Regions from separate parts of the Homo sapiens genome. Here regions 2, 3, 4, 5 and 6 are each linked to region 1. The links are contacts of gene promoters, found by promoter capture Hi-C in human tissues and cell types (Jung and others, 2019). All regions are on one chromosome and are shown on one strand. Each heading gives the region's core, a stretch centred on a gene start or on the middle of the fragment in contact. The rest is flanking DNA. Distances are from core to core; before and after follow the strand shown.

The links. The method cuts DNA at HindIII sites, captures the fragments that hold promoters and counts their contacts. A contact is called where the count stands out against the background at its distance.
Region 2: a contact is called between a fragment that was not itself captured here and the fragment with the promoter of GDNF in region 1, in 2 of the 25 tissues and cell types used here (H1 embryonic stem cells and IMR-90 fibroblasts).
Region 3: a contact is called between a fragment that was not itself captured here and the fragment with the promoter of GDNF in region 1, in 1 of the 25 tissues and cell types used here (IMR-90 fibroblasts).
Region 4: a contact is called between a fragment that was not itself captured here and the fragment with the promoter of GDNF in region 1, in 1 of the 25 tissues and cell types used here (IMR-90 fibroblasts).
Region 5: a contact is called between a fragment that was not itself captured here and the fragment with the promoter of GDNF in region 1, in 1 of the 25 tissues and cell types used here (IMR-90 fibroblasts).
Region 6: a fragment that was not itself captured here is called in contact with the fragment with the promoter of GDNF in region 1 in 1 of the 25 tissues and cell types used here (mesenchymal stem cells).

Annotation. Positions count from the first base shown.
Region 1 is chr5:37,838,245-37,841,727 of GRCh38, reverse strand. It overlaps GDNF (glial cell derived neurotrophic factor), which reads left to right and starts at 1,687. Exons shown (of 3, transcript NM_000514.4): 1 at 1,687-2,221. GDNF-AS1 (GDNF antisense RNA 1) reads right to left here and starts at 1,844. Exons shown (of 4, transcript NR_145476.1): 1 at 1,690-1,844. RefSeq lists an enhancer at 1,826-2,763. The HindIII fragment of the contact is 15,271 bases long and covers 1-3,483 here.
Region 2 is chr5:38,069,957-38,073,439 of GRCh38, reverse strand. All of the region lies in intron 2 of LINC02107 (long intergenic non-protein coding RNA 2107), which reads right to left. Among named protein-coding and RNA genes, the nearest start is that of LINC02107, 46 kb to the right of the region's middle. The HindIII fragment of the contact is 4,321 bases long and covers 1-3,483 here.
Region 3 is chr5:37,607,332-37,610,814 of GRCh38, reverse strand. All of the region lies in intron 10 of WDR70 (WD repeat domain 70), which reads right to left. Among named protein-coding and RNA genes, the nearest start is that of WDR70, 230 kb to the right of the region's middle. The HindIII fragment of the contact is 4,194 bases long and covers 1-3,483 here.
Region 4 is chr5:38,028,798-38,032,280 of GRCh38, reverse strand. It overlaps LINC02107 (long intergenic non-protein coding RNA 2107), which reads right to left. Exons shown (of 3, transcript NR_147009.1): 2 at 3,225-3,394. Among named protein-coding and RNA genes, the nearest start is that of LINC02107, 4.8 kb to the right of the region's middle. The HindIII fragment of the contact is 3,779 bases long and covers 1-3,483 here.
Region 5 is chr5:37,663,328-37,666,810 of GRCh38, reverse strand. All of the region lies in intron 10 of WDR70 (WD repeat domain 70), which reads right to left. Among named protein-coding and RNA genes, the nearest start is that of GDNF-AS1, 170 kb to the left of the region's middle. RefSeq lists a silencer at 750-1,044. The HindIII fragment of the contact is 3,863 bases long and covers 1-3,483 here.
Region 6 is chr5:37,980,162-37,983,644 of GRCh38, reverse strand. No RefSeq gene overlaps it. Among named protein-coding and RNA genes, the nearest start is that of LINC02110, 33 kb to the right of the region's middle. The HindIII fragment of the contact is 3,548 bases long and covers 70-3,483 here.

The DNA of each region.
Region 1 (3,483 bases), core at 438-2,937:
CTAACTACATTTCTACCATAAATCTATCAAAGAGGGAAATGTCATTTTCTGCAGAACTCCAGAGAGCATCCTAATTTCAGCTAAGGTATGTTTTGATGACTCGATTTTCACTTCGCTTAATCTTAAATCACAGCAACGTTAGTAAGAACAATTTTCCTCCCACACTCGCTTCACTGACAAACCTGCAAAGTAGCTGATCTTTGACTTTTAAGAAGTTTAATAATACATGATCTTCCCCCCACACTGCCACACGCATTTCCCCTGCCTATTGTCTGTATCAGCTACTTGAAGAACACATACTCCCCAACAACCGGATGAGTCATAAAATAAGAGGTACATGGACGTAAACTGAGCCTGTTTACACTTTCCCTGGCCCCAGCTAATAAAATAAAAGAGGTCCCACTGAATTCAGGTCCAATGGCTTCCGGAAAACAGGTTTCTGCTTAGCAAAGACATGCCCTATTTAGTACATTATTTTAGAGGTACAGCCAATTCCATGCCCCATGTGAATGAAATGTATTTATGGTTATAGCCATGCACAGGGTGTGTAAGGACTTGCCCTCCTCCTGTCCTCTACAAAAGAAGGCTCAGGCAGCTTCTGGTGGTGAACTAACCAACAAAAGGAATGCCCAGAAGGTCTCACCTCTCCCATCCACAGAGCTCTGGAATGGGGGCCGGGCCCCTGATCGCTGGAAACTCAGCATCCAAGTGGGCGCTTGCTGAAGTTTCCCATCTGCATTTTCGAAAATCTGGATAAAAGCAGGTTTAGCTCAACCTCCCCTAACCCGTTCCTGATAAAGTGATCTTACGCCTCTGGAATTGGGATTTTGAATGTATGTGCCTGCCCCATGTCTGGTATTAGATTACAACAGCATGAAAATGGAGCCTAGGACTGAGGAGCCGGCCAGCCTCAGAAGCCTTCTTCATTGCCTGCCATGTAATACATGATATGCAAAGCCTCTGACTTCAGCCAGCAGATATTTGGAGACCGTGTTGGCCTTAGCATGGGGACTAAACTAATGTGTGTTTAGGTCAGAAAGCGAATCAGAAAAGCCACTGGAGGGCACGTCACGGAGTGAGAGCCCTATAAATTCATCCCCACTCGCAGCGTCCCCTGGCAAATACTCGGCTTCCCTCACCCGGCCGCTCCGCACCTCTCCTTCTCGGTGCTAGAACTCCGGCCGGCAGCTCCTTTTCTCGCCACTGCCTCCTGCCCTGCGGAGAAGCGAGAGGGCGAGACACCCGAGCGGGAAGGCCGGCCTTCGACAGGCGCGAGGAAAGCCCGGCGCTGCCCTGCACCGGCAGAGCGCCACCCTCCCAGTGCGGCGCGCGGGGGCAAAGCCCGGCGCGGGCGCCGCGGTCAAGTTCGGATTGCCCCTTTCGGCTGGCCCGCGCAGAGCGCCGCACATTCCTCTCGATTTTTGATCCACCCGGAGAGGAGAAGGCGCTAGCCCCGCGGCGTCTCCGCGCTCTCAGCGCTCTCCCTGCAGCCCAGGGAGGGGCGCCTCGCGTCGCCCACTCGCACCCCGGCCCCCCGCCTCGGGAACTCCAGGGCCTCCTCGCTGCTCTCCTCTCCTCCCCCACCGCCAGGCCCAGCCGACGCCTCCCGACCCCTCCCTCCCGGGGCCCCGCGCCTCCCCTCCCCCACCCCGGACCCCGGACCCCCAGCCCGGGCTCTAGAAGACCAGCCTGCGCTCCTGGCGCCCTCATGTCTTCACGGGACTCCCCGCGCCGGTTGACGTGGTGTCTCGTTCGGATCTCCAGGCAAGACCTCAGCTCCGGCAGCAGCATCAGACAAACCAGTCTCGTGCTCCCAGGCAGTGCGCCCAGAGGAGGCGCAGAGCGCGGCAGCTGCCGCTGAGCCGCCCGCAGCGCCCCGGGCCCGCGCAGCCCCAGCCAAGAGCGCGACGCGCGCAGCCCTGTCAGCCCCCCACCCAAAGCAGCGGCGGCTGCTCGGACCTCGGCTTCTGGGGGTGCGGGGGCCCGGCGGGAGAGTTGCCGGCAGCCCTCGCCCTGTTGGCGGCGGCGGCGGCGGGAGTCTTGGCCGCCGCCTCCAGCGCGCCCTTGCTGCCCCGCGCGACCCCAGGATTGCGAACTCTTGCCCCTGACCTGTTGGGCGGGGCTCCGCGCTCCAGCCATCAGCCCGGATGGGTCTCCTGGCTGGGACTTGGGGCACCTGGAGTTAATGTCCAACCTAGGGTCTGCGGAGACCCGATCCGAGGTAAGTGAGGGAGCGGGCCGGGGAGCAGGGAGCGGGTGGTGCCTGCGTCGCGGGTGGGTGCGGCCGGCTGAAGGGCGCCCTAGTCAGAGGGGTGCGTCTGGACCCCAGAGCAAACGGTGAGAGTAGAAAGTGGAAAGACTAGAGGGAACCTAAGCTATGCGAGGAGAGAGAAAAGTAGAACCGGAGAGAGGCCGGCCTTTCGGAGGGGCATGTTGCCTTTTCCACGTGGGCAAAGATCTGTGGAGCCCCAGATGCGCCTGGACCCGGAATGCCCAAGAGGGGCAGTTTCCTTCCCCGACTCGGCCAGGTGCTCTTCCGTCAAGTCACAGAACGATTCAGGGCTTGGGTCATCTTCGAACCCACCGCCGTCGAAATGTGTCCTCTCTGGACGTGCAGAGATACTATCATTGCCAAGAGTGCAACTTACTATTGAGCTTGTTTTGATCTGTGCCAAGGAAAAGCGCAGGCCGGGGGAGGGGCTGCTGCAAAGGTGCTGAGAACCTAAAAATGGAGGGCTCACCTCCTCCGGGCGAGGTCTGGCAAAGCTACATTCCTCACCCGGTTGCCTGCACGTTCCTAACGCCCTCCACCCCAACTAACCATCCCCGTCGAGGTTAGGAGAGGGGCTTTCTTGCCAGTCCTGGATTCAAATCTCTGTCTCGAACGTATTCTTGAGACTCCACTAGGCCATTGAGGTTATTATTTTAATGACCCCTTTTTCTCCTGTACTCTGTGCCGCCTTCCAAAAACACCCCACCACCACTGCCACTACTTTACACCACCTCGAGGCTAATTCCGCACTGGTGGTTTGTTTCCTGCCCCAACGAAGAAAAACGAACCCTCTTCGGGCTGGAAACGGACTTTCGCGGGTTCCCGCCAGCTTCCTGGGGCCCAGCTAGTTTCGGCTTTGGTAGAATCCGCCGCCAGGACCCATGTGCGCGCCCCCGGGGGGCTTACCCATCCCAGAGCTCGCGACCCTTCTGCTCATAGGCGGGGACAAAGGCAACTCTTCCGGCCCCTGCTGCGGAGATGTTAGAACGCGCTCGACTCTTGCTCAGTGTTTGGAATATATGCTTAGGTATTTCAAGGAAGAGATGTTTCTTCCAACCTCATTCACGCACCCAGTCCCGCAAAGCCGTCAAAGCCGGCCTCGACCAAACTCGTACTGTTTCGCTGCGCCTTCGCTTTGTCAGGGAAGGTGGCGCCTTTTCAACAAGTAACAAGTGTCCGATCTCTGGGAAGTCCGCCGTGTCCCTAGCCCT
Region 2 (3,483 bases), core at 339-2,838, 230 kb before region 1:
TTCAAGCGATTCTCTTGCCTTAGCCTCCTGAGTAGCTGGAATTACAGGCACCCACCACCACGCCCAGCTAATTTTTGTACTTTTAGTAGAGATGGGTTTCACCATGTTAGCCAGGCTGGTCTCAAACTCCTGACCTCAGGTGATCTGCCCACCTCAGCCTCCCAAAGTGCCAGGATTACAGGTGTGAGCCACCGCACCTGGCCACGAATTATCTTTTCAATGGCATTTGTCTCCTGATCTGCTGGCCTCACCATACCTGAATAATAATAAAACCTACATTTTATAACAAGTGAATATTGGAGAGATTTCAATGTGGGGGTATCTGTGCTAGCAACAGCCAACGCAAAACTTTTTGTTGTATTTGAATTGTCCTGTTTTATTTACAAAGTATTTCATATACCCCTTCTCAATTGATTTAATTCTATCTGCAATTGTCTTCATTTTAGAGACAAATCAGAGATAACTGAGCAATAGCAACATTATTGGAAGAAATGTATGCTTTCTATCAGGCTGCACGTAAAGCACTACAGATAGAATACACAGTGCAGGATCTGTAGTGTTGGTTTCAAGGAAGTCTCAAAATACATACCAATAAAAACAGTAATCGCAGCCTCTAATACTTCCTGAGCCAGGCACCAACGTAGGTAATTTTCATACATTAATTCATTTAATCCTCATGTCAATGCTCAGGTTGATGCCCAAGGTAGTGGTCATTAGTTTCCCTGTTTCACAGACAATCTGAAATTAACGGGCTGAAAATTATCTGTTATACAATATTAGAGCTGCAAATAACTTTAAAGATCAACCCTCCCCCTTTTACAGATGAAGTAAATGTTTATGCGTTCTAGGCCACTTAAAGGTTTTGTTATTTTTGAGCACAATCCCCAAATTAGTCATATATAACCTGATTTTGCTAGTAGTGAGTTCCGATTCCTGTGACCTCCAGCCCAGCTATGTCGTATAAGGGAAGTGACACCTACTATAATAATCTCAAACCCCGTAATCCATCATACATACTTTGAAAGCACTAAAGGAAAATGTGTTACAATAACCAAACACACCTAGTGTATATCACAAGGCTTGCCTAAATATTTCCAATTTATGCTATTTTGAGAACTGGCGTCTAGCCCAGTTCCAACAACAGTGTCCAAGATTAAGTGAAAGACCATGTGAGTATGGTAATTGAAAATATAATTTTCCCCCCAAAGGGCTATTAGTTATGAATTTACTCACTCGTGTGTGTGAAATCTCCTTTTGAACAACTATGAAATGTGGATTCTACAGTTGTCTCACTTACTGGAAAAAAATGTGCATCTTATTAGGTTTCTAGAGGACAATGGTACGTCAAATCTAATCAGCCTTCCCTTGGAAGATTCTGCAGGAGCTAGGAGCCTCTCCTCAGACTGCCTCTCCCATAGCAACCGTCTTGCTCTTGGCAAAGGCATAGAGACTTTGTTGTGCTCAACCCTGTAACATTAATAAGCTAAGGGCCCTAGACAACAGCAGTTACCACAGAGCCATTTCAAAGCTGGCTTGAGGGGCACCAGGAGCTCAGTTCCTGGACACAATCCCACTGTGTTTTGGTATAACAGCCATTGGTGGCATAGCCTTATTTTTGGGTATAGCCTATCTTGGGACCAAACCCATTGGCCAATGACAACCAGATGCATTCATTTGGCTAAAACATTCTGAGCAGAATGGTACTCAAATTTCGATGATTTGAATGGATTCATCTTCCTTCCCACTCCTGCATGCTTCTGCATTGAGTCTAAAGCTTAAAGCAAAGGAGAATGCTTTGGATGTGACCTTTTCCCAAGATCTGACAGCTGGTCTAGATCTAGTCAATTGCAGCTTTTAATTAATATACTCTATACTCCCCACATAAATTAAGAAAAATAACAATGTACCAAAGAACTGGAAAGAAGGTTTCTGAGTTCTTTTAAATTGTGCCCAAAGGTTTCTAATACTAATTTCAAAGAAGGAAAGGATCTCGGTCTAAAGTTACTGAGTGTGTATGCCGAACAAATTCACTGGATAGTATTTGTGCTCCGAATTTTTCCAATTAAAATTATTTACCCTTAATGCTTCAAATAAAGTTATAACTTGGATTTCAATCCACAGCCATTCCATAACTCCATCAGCAGAAGCATAATATCATGTATTGTCATAATTCAATGCACTTTCACAGTTATGGAGTAACTGATTCAACTAGTTGTTCACTTCATTATTTTATCCATTTATGAGTTAAGCCAGGAACATAGCAACACCATGTCTATGTTCAGCCTCCTATGTCCTGCCCAAACTTTCACCTGTCTCCATACGGTTAGGGACTAAACAAAGGGGTAAACTTCAAGTAAACACAGACGATATTTATTAAGTTTCTTCCAAGCTGTATGTTCCTAGAGGTTATCACAAAGACTCCTCTAGTGGCAACTGGCTTGCAGAACTGATCCAGCAACATCTCAACAATTCTTTCCTGAAGCCCAACTGCATACTCAAAGCTCAGATCCACGCTCACTAGGAACAATTTTGGAAAACAAGGAGTTGATCACCATTTTCGCTTTGCTTTGCTTTGTTTTTGAAACTGTACAGACATGGCCAGAATTTGAACTTGCACTGCCTGGATCAGACCATGAATAACTAACTGCCTTAACTGGAAAGATTTGCCAGACCCCAAGAGCCTCATCCCCTGTCTGCTTCCACCCCAAGAAAGGCTGTGCTTCCTTCCAATGAACAGCCTAACACAATTTGGCAATGACTTTTCCTGCATTTTTTGGCAGAGAATATGGAAAGGAATATATATGGAAAATAATGTATGTGTGCATGTGTGTGTATGTGTGCGTGTGTGTATTGCATGTGTGTGTGCATGTGTGTATGTGTGTATGTCTGTGCATGTGTGTGTGCGTGTGTGTGCATGTGTATGCATGTGTGTATGTTCATGTGTGTGCATGTGTGTATGTGCATGTGTGTATGCATGTGTGCATGTGTGTATGCATGTGTGTGCATGTGTGTGCATGTGTGTGTGCATGTGTGTGCGTGTGTGTGTGGGCGTGCATGTAGTAGTCTTTTTTTCCTCCTGTGATTTTTCTACCTCTAAGCTTTCCAGTATAGAGTAGGATTGAGTAGTACTAACCATTCTGGTGCTATTTATTTGCTAGGTTCTAGGATTTCCCTATAAATTGGGGCTTCAGGGCTTATCTCCAACTAATAAGCTTCTTTTTTTTTTTTTTTAATTATTCTGCCAATGAGGCTTGAAGCAATCACACAGCACAGGGGCACATTCTTGAAGGAGAAATTTGGGCCTTTCCTCTTAATTCTATAATTGTTCAGAATGAGGGTGTGGTGAATGGACACTACAAGGAAAGTTTGGCCTAAAAATGAGAAGACAGAGGGAAGGAAGTAAACACTGACCTGGAGGTAGATTTAGACTAGGATTAGCAGCTGTCCCTTCTCCTTTGATGAAAGGGCTTAACTAACGGCAAG
Region 3 (3,483 bases), core at 384-2,883, 230 kb after region 1:
CATCCAAACTGTGCACCTTTCAGAAGCCCTATGACTCCCCACCTGACCTCTGCCTTCCCTAACTCTTCCATATGATGGGCATTATACAAAGTAGCACCTGGTCATAAATTACCTTACAGATCATTCCCTGAATTTTTTACAAACTACTTATAGGTTTAAATTTCTTTTGTCTTATTCTCAGTGAGGTGAGAGCTCCTCAAAAATACCAGTTGAAATGTTCCAGATGTGAACAGATACAGATATACAGATATGGAGAAAATCACAAAAGGATACCTATCAGGTAATTTACAAGCATCAAGGGATAGAGATGGGACAATGACAGAGGAGAGGAGTGGCACAGAATAAAATAATAATAAACCAAAAAACCAACTTTTTTTTTTGAAAAGCACATATTTCATGTAGGTAAAATTACAGGATCCCATTTAAATAAAGACATTTTGAAAAAAAGCAAAGAAATCAAGCTATATCTACTATTTTATGCTTTCAAATTAAAAAAACAAGCTTCAAATTCTCTCTACATAAAAACAAATTTTTTTTTTTTTTTTTTTTGAGACGGAGTCTTGCTCTGTCGCCCAGGCTGGAGCGCAGTGGCACAATCTCGGCTCACTGCAACCTCCGCCTCCCAGATTCAAGCAATTCTCCTGCATCAACCTCCCAAGTAGATGGGACTACAGGTGCCTGCCACCACGCCCAGCTAATTTTGTATTTTTAGTAGAGACAGGAGTCTTGAACTCCTGACCTTGTAATCTGCCCACCTTGGTTTCCCAAAGTGCTGGGATTGCAGGCATGGGCCACCGTGCCCAATCTATATATCTGTGAATACATGTATTAATAAGAAGAAGGATGCAGAAAGACATAAAGTAATCTTTTAACATGGGTTATCTGACAGCAACTGGAGACATTTAAAGATTTGCTGTGTGCTGGATATTTCTTTTTTCTTCATATTTGTTGTCTTACTTGCCAAAAGCTGATTTCCTGATATGATTACTGCCTCAGATTCCTCCGTTCCACTTTCTGGCATGGCTGAAAATGGGGGCACTGAACAGCCAACCGAGCTGGGGAAATCTTGCGGCTTTCTTGGTAAGGCATTGTGCTGTGTGGTGACTTTCCCAAAAGGAACAGCCCAAGAATCTGGGCAAGGGCTTGCAGGCCAAAAGGGCAATAGAAGGCAGTCAGATAGAGCAGGGGTCAAGTTGCTAGTGGTGCCTACTGCAAAATCAAACAACCTCAAATATTATTCCCTCCCATCACCTGTGTCTAGGGAGAACAAAACTCCATGAATAAGATGAATCCCAATTTTCCTGACAAAAACTTAGCCTACAAACAGTAATTGCAAGATAAGAAAACACAGTATGTTCTTTTAGTCAAGAGTCTAGTATATTGTAGATTCCTGATAGATATTAAAGAACAGCAACAGTGCTTTGTGCAAAGTCAAAGAATAAATCTGATAGGTGTTTTGATATGAAGAGAAGTTATTAGGTATTCATAAGACTATACATGCTGAATTATTTGAAAGCCCAGAATTATAAAGAGACATGAACATAGTTTTTAAAAATTTGCCTGTTATTAGCAAATCCAAAATCAGTCACATATACAGATTAATATATTTATATTAAGAATATACCAAAAACTACCCCAATACCTCTCTCCTCTCCCCCTACCCCAAAACTCGTACACATACCCAACTCTATCTCATTGTGTATTCACATAACTAGGATAGTGTTTTTATGCTACTATTCTTTAAATGTATTCTTAGAACTAAACTGACCATCTCATTTTATGTTACTATTTTAGAATACATACACATCCATTTATTCATTCAACAAATAGTTACTGAAGGTCTGCTATATACTAGGCACTGTCTTTGCTCTGGGAATACAGCAGGGAGTAGAACAGACAGCAATCCTTTCCCTCATGCAGCAAATATCCTACTAGAAGGAAACAGCCAATAAAGAGGGCCAGGTGCAGTGGCTCACGCCTGTCATACCAGCACTTGGGGAGGCTGAGGTGGGGAGACTGCTTAAGTCCAGGAGTTCAAGACCAGCCTGGGTTACATAGTGAGCCCTCCATCTCTATAAAAAACAAGAAAATTAGCTGGGCATGGTGGCGCATGCCCGTGGTCTCAGCTACTCGAGAGGCTGAAGCAGAAGGATCAACTGAGCCTAGGAGGTCAAGGCCACACAGTGAGTTGTAATCATGCCACTGCACTCTAGCCTGAGTGACAGAGTGAGAACTTGTCTCAAAAGTTAAACAAAAAAAAAAAAATAGTGAAACATACAGTACAGCAGGTCAGACAGCAATCAGCACTATGGAAGAAAATAAGAGGGGTAGAGAGTACCACTGGCAGGGAGAAGGCTGCAATTTAAATATGGTGTGGTCAGGGAAGGTCTTGCTGAGAAGAAGAAATTTCAGTCCTCTGAACTGAAAGAGATGAGAGAAAAAGCCATATGAATAGCTATAAGAGTGCTGCAGAATGGCCAGGCGTGGTGGCTCACGCCTGTAATCCTAGCACTTTGGGAGGCCAAGGCGGGCGGATCACGAGGTCAGGAGTTTGAGACCAACGTGGCCAATATGGTGAAACTCCCTCTCTACTAAAAATACAAAAATTAGCCAGGTGTGGTAGCGCATGCCTGTAGTCCCAGCTACTCTGGAGGCTGAGGCAGAAGAACCACTTGAATCCGGGAGGTGGAGGTAGCAGTGAGCCAAGATTGTGCCACTGCACTCCAGCCTGGGCGACAGAGCAAGACTCCGTCTCAAAAAAAAAAAAAAAAAAAAAGAGTGTTGCAGACTGTCAGGCTCAACATGTGCAAAATCAGGGTGCATGCTTTTACTGCTCCAATGTCATCTCCCACTATTCTTTCCCCCTCTCTCACATCATGCCAACAAGGCAATAGATGCCTTGCTGTTGCTCAAATTATGCTGGTGAATGGGAAGTAGAGAATCAAGGAGGCAGTGCAGATCCACAGAAGCTTCTCTGAAGAGGCCTTCTTCTCAAATGAAAGGCTGACCATCATCATATGAATAAAAGGAACCTTGGGCAAACAACCACTCCTCTTGAGGAGCAATGTCCAGTGAACTTTCTGCAATGATGAAAATGGTCTATATTGTCCATTAAGTAGCCACTGGTCACATGATGCTACTGGGTACCTAAAAAGTGTCCAGTGTGATTGAGAAACTGAAATTCTAATTGTATTTTATTTTAATTAAAATTAAAATAGTCAAATGTGGCTAGTGGCTAGCATATTGACCAATATAACTCTAGAGTAAACGTAGGTCTTGAGAACACAGAAATGTATCATTAATAGAGATACCTTACTTCTAAAAAGATATGTTTTGTTTAATTTACTGAAGTTCAAGTTGATCTAATGAAAATTCTAGGATTAAATGGGGCAATTATGAATGTTTTACTTAATCATCACAAAATACAGATTAACCATTATCCATCATATAATTATTTAACTACTGTTTGGAAAAACTATTGTT
Region 4 (3,483 bases), core at 377-2,876, 190 kb before region 1:
TGGAGGCCTCACATGCTTTGCTGCCATTGGGAGCTAGCTGTCAAACTCCAGAGCTAATGGAAATATATTCTAAAAGCCAAATTCCACCCTTCACTTGCATGGTGACAGTTCCTAACCAGGTGAGAGAGCTTCGACCCCATCCCAAAGTCTGAGACCTTCAGTCTTTCTTTGTCATCACCTTCTTCTCATGTCATTGTCAACAAATCCCCTTTGACAACCCTCTCTCTTTTCCCTTGGAAAATGCCCAAATTCTCCCAAGAGAGGAAGCACTATCTTTCTAAATCTTAATTTAATTGGAAAAGAGAGAGCTGAGATTTTTAAATTCAGGGCAGAGGCAGACTCATTCATTACCACTTCAAGGTCCAGGATTTGGGCTGATGAGCAAATAGATCAATCATATTGGGAGGTGTTCTGTACCTTCCTCTGTTATAACTCTAATTCCCACAGTCAAAAATATACATTCAGGAATAAACAGGCTGGTTCTCTCCAGTGTCTTCTCAACTGATAGTTCGTAACTGGTATGATAGTTAAATTCACGTGGAGAAGGATGCAGATTCATTTGCCAGACACAACCAAGACAGGGCCAACACCAGCAGGGGCTTCTAGAACTAGAATGAAGTTTCCCTGCTTCAGATCAGAAGAAACTCAATTGGAGGCCCAGTCATGTGTCTTATACAAGTGCCTAACAACATACATAAAATCCCAGAGAGCTGTGTATCTAAGTGAGCCAACACTAGTTCACAAGCAGCAATGCAAAACCCCTTTCTTCCTCTGCCCCGTGGCAAAAAGTAGGTCTGTTCCATTTGTTTACAACCATTGCTGTTACTTTCCAGCATAACCATAATCTTATTTTGTAAATCCTATTCCTGACACACCTCAAACCATCTGCCCATTCTTTCTTGGGTTAGCTTGGGGCTGTTTGGCAAATGTCTGTCATTACCTGTAAGTGGAATATTTTTTAACAGAGTACATGCCCCTTGTAAAGGCATGTTGCCATGGCTGCTAGGTGCTCTGAAAAATCTCCTTTGGTTTTTTTCTTGAAATCCAATATGGCTTTAGTAATTTTTAATATGTGTAGAATTAAGAAGAGACAAAGAGGCATAAATACAACCCATTAGGCTTCAGATTCAAAATAAGTTTGTACACGCTCTCAGTCAAATACAAGGAATTGGCTAAAATTTTATTAATAAAAGTATATTTGTCAGTTTGAAGGAAGAGAAGACTTAGCCTATGTTTCAGATTCAGACTTGCAAACAGTTTTGAGGGGAACAAGTGATATAGTCTGAGCCGTAGAACTTCCACCATTTCTTGTCCCCATGGAGTGGGACCAGGGTTCTCAGCAAGTCACTACAATCTGTCTTTGCTTCATTATTTTGACATCTTCTCCTTATTTAAACTACAAGGTGCTGAGAAAGACCCAGAACCCCAAACTGGATGAAGGATATGTGATAGGCAATTCACGGAGCACAGATACAAATGGACAAAAGTGAGAAAAAATATCTCACCTTATTAGTAATCAAGAAAATAATAGAATAAAATAACAAGGTCACTGTTAGCCTCTAAAACGGCAAAGATTAAAAACAATGAAAATATGTAGTGAGGGTGTGGGGAAATGTTCACTCTTAAGCACTGCTGAAGAAAGCAGAAATTCATACAACTCTCCTGGAGTCACTTTGGTAGTATCTAGCAAAATTTTTCTAGTACCTACCTTTGGCTACACTTCATGTATATACACACACACACACACACACACACAGACACACACACAGACACACTCATGTGAATTTAAAAATTATTTATAGTGGCATTACTTGTAAAAGCCAAAAATTAGAATTAGCCTATCAAAAGAGAAATGGTTACATAAACTCTGGTTTACCTACCCAATGGACTAGTTTATCTACCCAATACACTGCCATTAAAAAGAATGAGACAGTTCAACATCTTCCGATATGAAAAGACTGATATATTGACAATTAAGACAGCAACTTACAGAATATTAATATGTTCCAACTTATGGAAAAACAATGATTTACCTAGGTCTATAACAAAATGTGAAAAGGAGACTCTTTTTCAGCTTTGTCTAAGGCCCCAGAAGACCCAGAACAAAGCAAGAGGCAATTAGTGGTCTCACATTTTAAAATGAGTTTCTAGACCACCTAGACAGGACTTGCAAAGGAGACAACTGCAACCATTAGCCCATCACTCGCCTCAAGGCTATAAAAGGACTGAAACTGAAAATGCTGAAAGAATTCCTTTGGAATGATTTTTCAGGGTGTGGTGGTGTTTCCACCTTTACCTCTTTCTAAGTAAGAGAGGTTTCAAGGAGATCTCCCTGAATGCTGGAGTCTGCCAAGTGTAGACTGGCACTTGATTCAAGACCAAAGATCGTCTACTAGCAAGAGGCTGCAAATTGCGTGCGGAGGCCCAGGCACTGAGAGAGCTGCAGTGCAGCAGACAGGCCCAGGTACTGAGAGAGCTGCAGTGCAGCAGACTGCACATCTCCCAGCAGCAGGAGCCAGAGTGCATCAGTCTTGCCCTTAGGCCATATGCAAGGGAGCCAGCCAGGATGGTCTTGAAAAGGGCCCCACCTGTAGAGAGGTTGACAACACTCCACCCATAACCTTCCTATCTCTTGATCACATTCACACACACACACCTACTGGGTGGAGGGCAAGCTTTTACTCTCCCCAGCCAGCACCTGCATCTGTCAGCGGCTGCCCACAAGCCGCGGGAACCCACTAGATGCACCAAGAGCCAGAGTGCCTGGGGTGATGGGTGGGACTTGAAGGGACTGGAAGAGTTGTTATTCTACATGATTGTCCAAGAGTGTGAGAATGAATCTGCATATTATAGTTATAGAGACAGCAAGGGGAAACTGTTTTCTACCTGTACTGTATGGAATCTCATGCTTTCAATATGATGTTAACAATTACACAGGTAAAACAGAGAAAAGGTCTGGAAATTTACACACAAACCAATTATGATCTCTAGAAAGCAGAGTGTGGTTAGAGGATGAATAAAAAAAACTTATGTATTTTACTCTATACACTTCTTTATAGCTTGATTTTTTAAAAAAACAAACATATGTACTTATCTCTTTTGTAAACAAAAACTTAAAATACACACACACATACACACATATACTCACTGTATAAAAATTCAGAAAAGTAAGAAAAAGAAAACAAACAGACCATAAATGTAATTCCACTCCTCCCAGATCTCACCTCTGTTAGTATTTGATGAGTTTTTATTCACATCTTTTTTATGTAATTTGCTTGGAGCAGACAGGGCCTCATTGGGCATCACCAACAGTCAAGTTAAACAAGCAAGAACTTCAAGGATTGTTTACTGCTGCCACTCATATATTCCATGGGTATTTTGACCATATGAAAATCTGGGTATAGGAACAAAGAAAACCAATTTGATACTTATGAGTCTGTCTCCCTTAGCTCCCTTAGCTTAAAATGTTCATAATTAAGATGG
Region 5 (3,483 bases), core at 538-3,037, 180 kb after region 1:
CCAGGATTTGAACCCAAGCAGTGTGTCCCAGGATCTGCACACTTAACGACCACTATACATGGTACATAGTACTCATGGTTCCTCTGATTTCAGGCTACCTCTGCTCTGACCCTCATTTGCAACTAAAGTGAGCCTAGACTCTGTTTGTGCAGCACCCTTGTTCTTCCCTTGCTAGGCCAGTCCTGTCACCAACCACCAACGGAATCTGAATGTGAAAAGTAGGGAAGTAAAGCAAGAGTTAGGTGTAGAATAGTGGGTTCTATTAGCACTACCACAGTTTCTGAAAACAGATAAAATTATCATCCGTTGCTAGACCCAATCTCAGGCCATAGCTAAACTGAGTCCATAAGCACAAGCTGATTGGCCTTTATTCAAGATCACACCAAGAGTCCCTAAAGTAATTTAAAACTTGGCAAATAGCACAGTTACTAACTGGCAATAAGGAAAACACACTCGCTGCTGTAGATCTCCTTAGTTGCCCTTTATATGATATCACCTTTTCTTCTTTATCTTTAACTCCTAAGTCTGGGGTAACAGGAGTTGGGGATCTTAGGCTGTCTATGTCACATAAGAAACACAAGTGTGAACACAAGTGCAGATCCCAATTCAGCTTTTAATTGAAGAGGAAAGCCACCATGCCAACACCGGAAGCACAGCGCCGTGGAATGACCTGCCTAGACGGGAGGGAAAGCCCGGCGGTGCCCCCCTTTGAAGTCCAGCTGCCTGAGATTCACTGGCAGCCGACCTTCAAAGAGAGCCGATGCTTCCTTCCCTCAGCCTGGCTGCCAAGCTTCCCGGGCAGCTGGGCAGATTTAGCCACTCTCTCCCCAGCTGTCTGTGAACGCTGGCAGCCAGTTCAAGTGACGGATAGAGAGGTGGTAAGGAAGGGAGGGTGAGGAAGCAGAGGAGAGGGTGGCGGGCCCAGTGGCGCCAGGGAAAAGAGGATGCTGGGTTTCCTTGGAGCTGACCTTATCAAAGTCAGTCAAAAAGACAAAGCTTCCAAAGGGAGTACAATCCAACTATACGACAAAGCAACTTTCCAGAGAACAGGGAGATTTCAAATACACTTTCCTTCAAAAGCTGAGTGAATCTGAAATGTACTCATCTAAAGATAACCCAATTGCTGCAGAAAATAGTCCTATCTCTACATAGGGATGTGAGAAACAAAGTCAAGGTCAAGCATCAAAATGTACAAATTTTTGACTGATTTTTATTTTCCAGCAGCATGAGTTCACACTTCTTAGAGACTTTTGGGGGTTGTTTGCTGACTTTGTTGTGGCAACCCTTCTGTTCCCCTGGCAGCCAATTGCTGAAACAACTTATCTGTTTCTGCGCCTGTGCAGCAGATGCTTGGACAAGACTGGCTTATTTAACATAAACATTACCAATGTGCTGTTATGTTTATCCTGTTGAACCCACATGCTTGGAGTAGGGAATAGTGAGTGTTATCAGCTGCAGGTACAAAGGGGATGCAGAGCAGTTCTGTAAGTGACCACAAACTCTCAAAAGAAGTCTACTCAATAACAAGACTTCAAATTTGGTAAAGTAGGAGACAAAGTGATGAGAATATAGGTGAATGGAAAGAAGAACTGAAGAGGTATAAAGAGAAAAGTAAATCATCAGATTTTCATTGTATATGAAGTCCTCTGGCAGCTATATGGCAATGAAGGAAAGATAGATTAGAAGCCAAGGAGAAAAAGGATCATACATCTCAGGAAATCTTTTCTCTGTTTAGTACAATTTGACTAAAAAAGGAATGCATGGATGAGCTGGTACACTTGACAATATGAACAAAAGACCTACATATTCGTACAGACCATCTTATTAAGTCACTAGCTACAAATTTATCTTCCCTATTCTTTAGATTGCCTTGAAACTGTATGACACAGCATCCAGCACTAAGTTCAGTGATACTAAACACATCCAATCCAAAACTTATTATCTAAATTTAAAAGTATAATGCTGATCTTATAGAAGAACAACCAATTAATATTTGCTAAAATTCACTCATTCTACAAACATTTAGGAGCCCTTGTTATGTGCAAGGCACTATGCCAGGTGTGGCAGATGTCAAGATCGGTTAAATGGCTCCTTACCCAACAATGAGATCTGTCTAGAAAGGGAGGCAAACATTCAAAACAAATATCTACAATAAATTGTACAAAAAAATGGCAATATCCATAAACTGTATAGTAAAAACACCAAGAAAAGGTCAACTTTATCATGGTAGTATAATATTAATAGGTTCAGAAGGAATAGAAGATGGGAAAAGAAGTCAGGTAAAGCCTGGTGAGGATGCTGGATCACAGTCTTTGAAAGTTAAGGAGGAGATCTCTAGGGATACAAGGAAATACTACTCCACTAGAGGACACTGAATAGAAAAGTCTTAGAAGTGTGAAATAGCACCTTACTTTTGGATCTATAGGTAGGACTCAATAACAGACCAGGAGCAGATAAAACTGGAGAGCCAGAGATCAAACCATTAGTGGCTTCATATGCCCTTCTATGGAGTTTAATTTTTCAACTTGTGGGTAATGTTGATTTTTTGAAGGGATTTAAGGACAGAGGAGTAATATTGTCATAAGAGTATTTTAAAAGATCACCCTGCAGTGGTGGGAAAGATGAATTGGAAAAAGGAAGACTGAAGACAGGGAGGATGAGTCAAGAAACATCTGCAGTGTTCTAGGTGAGGGCTTGAGCTGTGTCATTAATGGAGGAGTAGGTAAGACAGCAATTTAAATTGCAGTCGGTGGCTTTGGTATGGGCAGTTCCAGCTAATTTGTGAAGTGGATGTTGCAAATATAGTCTACTCTGGGTAGAAACCTGGCAATAAAAAAAGTTAGAGTTGGAGAAAGCTTTTGTTAAATAAAATAAATAAAAAGCAGAAACTTGAGCATATTTTCTAGGAGCCAGTAGGGATGAAAAGGATAAAAATACAGGAAAGGGAGTAACTGATAGAATTAGGGCTCAAAGGAAGCAGGAAGGACATAATCAGGCACGCAGGTGGAAGGATTAGTGGGGAACTACAAGAGAAAGACCTCTTCCTTGGCGACTGCAGGGAAGGAGGCTGAGAGACCACAGCAGTATGCGCACAGAGATACATACAAGGGCACAAAGTCTACCAGAAGTCCGGCCTATTGTCCCTATTTTTCCAAGTAAATGAGAGGAGATAATTGAGTAGGAAATGGGGGTTGTAACGTAAACCAGAGAAGAGTTGGGGAAGTTTGAAAACACCCAATGAGATGAATGACAAGAATTAACTGGACATAGAAAAAAAGAGACTGCCAAGGCCAGGAAGGCCCAAAAGAAAATAAAAATCATAAATCTGGAATGGCACTACCCTGCAAAACTGTGGGCTTTTTTTCAGGTCGGACTTAAGAGCCAGAGCAAGGAAGCAAGGAAATCATATTACTGGGATAGTCGAGTAGAAAACAGAAAATAAAGCACAGTTTAAAATCTTGGTAAAATATGTATTACAGAAAT
Region 6 (3,483 bases), core at 594-3,093, 140 kb before region 1:
CAGCCTTGGAGAAGTTTACTCATCCAAATTCCTAAATTTACCCACCCTGAATTCCTAAAAGGAACAGGGCTAACCCAACCAAGCTAATGAGGTGTCTGAATTTCAATGGTTCGAGGACAAACACTTTAAGGAGAGGCAGCATGGTCATTGGAGTTGGGAGATGTGGAAATGTGGGTTTGGATCCTGCTCTGCACTTGATCAGCTGGTACATAGACTCTCTGGCCCTCAACCTCCTCATCCACATAATAGGAATAATAATGCTTGACTGTTGGGTGGTTCATTATACAAAATTGGGTAATAGATGCAACACAGTGCCTAGCATATAATCATCATGAACATTAAGACCCACTCCATGTCACTACTCCTGTCAGATGCTGGGAGAAATTACCTTCCTACATTCCATTCTTCTACTTAGTATGTGTCTGATGTGTGTGACAATGGAAATGGCCTCAGTTTGACACTGAACTCCAAGAGATACCTAAGTTGATATCTTTTGAGTAAAAACGTGAAGGGTCTAGCTGGGTGTGGTGGTGGGCACCTGTAATTCCAGCTACTTGGGAGGCTGAGGTAGGAGAATTGCTTGAACCCAGTGGGCAGAGGCTGCAGTGAGCCAAGATCACGCCACTGCACTCCAGCCTGGGCAACGCAGCGAAACTCCGTTCAAACAAACAAACAAACAAAAAAACACAGTAACCAGCAGGGTGTGGTGGCTCACGCCTGTAATCCCAGCACTTTGGGAGGCCAAGGCAGGTAGATCATCTGAGGTCAGGAGTTCAAGGCCAGCCTGGCCAACATAGTGAAACCTTGTCCCTACCAAAAATACAAAAATTAGCCAGGCATGATGGCGGGCGCCTGTAGTCCCAGCTACTCCAGAGGCTGAGGCAGGAGAATTGCTTGAACCCAGGAGGTGAAGTTTGCAGTTAGCCACGATCACGCCACTACACACTCCAGCCTGGGCAACAGAGTAAGTCTCCGTCTCAAAAAAAAAAAAATTATAAAAGGTCTGTGATGAAGAAGCTACCTCTCCTTCCATTAAATACTTTGAGTCATTCTTCTCAAAACAGTCTTAGAATGGAAACTCTTGGTGTTTTATACTTGGTTTTGTCCAATATGAAAGATATCCTAGCTACAGTGATAGAACTGGAAATGGTGGAATTTGGCCACAGGGTAGAAATGAAGCGGGAAAAGGGAAAGGACAATACTATGATCATTCTTATTATACAGAAGGAATTTTACAGGAGAAAAGATGAATAACTAGCCAAAGACATACAGCATTTCAGAAGTAAAGCTGAAGTGTAATGTGCTTCAATTTCCAGCACTGTCTCTATTTTGTCTGAACCGGGCTTACATTTTTCAACATCAGAGCCTTAACACCTAGTGTCTAGCAACACCCAGGGCCTGCCACTCCCAGCAATACCTAGCAGCACTTAACCATGACAGGTACTCAATAAGTGCTTGTACATGAATAATCTTAAGAAAGGTCAGGAGATCGAGACCACGGTGAAACCCCGTCTCTACTAAAAATACAAAAAATTAGTTGGGCGCAGTGGCGGGTGCCTGTAGTCCCAGCTACTCAGGAGGCTGAGGCAGGAGAATGGCGTGAACCCGGGAGGCGGAGCTTGCAGCAAGCCAAGATCGCGCCACTGCACTCCAGCCTGGGTGACAGAGAGAGACTCCGTCTCAAAAAAAAAAAAAGAAAGAAAGAAAAGTCAAATTAAAATTATGTGGTAGCTCAGAATCCATCCTTTAACCAAAACCTAATAAAATATTTACACCAAAAGGGAGATATCCTGTTTCAAAGTAGGAAAAGATTAGATGTTTTGTTCCAAACTAGCAAGAAACATTCAAGTAAGTTCCTCTACTCCTACCCAAACATTATCTTACGATATTTTTTTCCTGATCATGTTTTTTCCCTGGGACAATTTGCTATCCATTCTCAAAAGCAACTCTCCAAATAAAATAGATTTCATCATGACTCAAACTTACAACATTTTTTTTAGTAAACACCAGATAAACACTAGGAGAGCTAATACTTTGTTGCCAAACAACCAAACAGATGTGATCCCTACCACTTCCTACCTTTCCAAAAGACGTGATTAATGGATAATTATAGGAATATTCTAATTCTTGTTGAAAAGCTTGATCGATTTATTGGTGCTTGTGGCCAAACAATAACCACGTCCATGTTTCAAATCACTGTAGATGACCAGAATCTGGGGCTCATCATGACTCTATACTTTGCTATAAGACTGGTGCCAAGAAAATTTCTTTCCAGCTCAGTAATCCTTCTTCCTTTCTCGATAAATTCTACATAGCTTTCCCTTTGCTCCTGCCTTGGGGTAAGATTTCTTGCAGCAGCCATGTAAAATGACTTCTGTCTTTGGAAGATTTCTTAGAAAACACATTGTCTCTGATCCCCACCCTTTGAAAATTTCCACTGTTTACCCAAACAATACCTTCCACAGAATTCTCAGCGTAGCATCAATGCCCCCAGGAAGGTCTTGCAGATCCTTTTGTCGCTAGACTAGGTTAGGTTCTCCTGCCCTGTGTTCTTACAGTACTTTGTTTCCCCAATACAACATCTTCACACTTTATTTTAAATTTCTATTTAATTGTCTATCTTTCCAACTGGACTATAAGACTATGAGGAAAACAGCAGGCCCTCGGTACCTGGTGATTGTTAAATAAATGATAACTTCCAAATTTTATCAGGCCTTATAGTTCCAATCTCATTCCTTCTCATAAAAGAAAGTGCAGAAGCCCCAGAATATGGCCACACAGCTAGAGATGTTTCCAGCTTCTCTTGCAGCTAGGCTCTCGCCAATTGGATATGAGTTGAAGACATATTTGCAACTTCCAGGTCATGTCATTAAAAAGGAAGCTTCTTCTCCACTTGCTGTTTCCCCCTTCCTAAAGGCTGCAAAGTAAACAAAATGGTGAGCCAGCTTCAACAAGGGAGATAAGGACAACAACCTAAGGCATGGCAGAACCACAAAACAAAAGAAATCTAGTTCCTGGCTAAACTTAGAGAGCAGAGCCACCTCTCCACTCTGGACTGCTCATCTGTCTATAGACTGTTACATCAGAAACACCTTTGTCACTGGGCACAGTGGCTCATGCCTATAATCCCAGCACTTTGGGAAGCCAAGCCTGGCAGATCACTTGAGCCCAGAAATTGGAGAAGAGGCTGACCAACATGACAAAACCCTGTCTCTACAAAAAATACAAAAATTTGCTGGGTGTATTGTACGTGCCTGTAGTCCCAGCTACTCAGGAGACTGAGGTGGGAGGATGGCTTTAGCCCAGGAAGTGGAGGTTGCAGTGAGCCAAGATGGCATCACTGCACTCCAGCTTTGGTGACAGAATGAGACATGAGACCCTGTCTCAAAAAAAAACAAAAACAAAAAAGAAAAAACACACATTTGTCTCTCGTTTATGCCTCTGAGTTTGGGGTCCTCTCTCACCTTTTTTTTTAAGTATGAA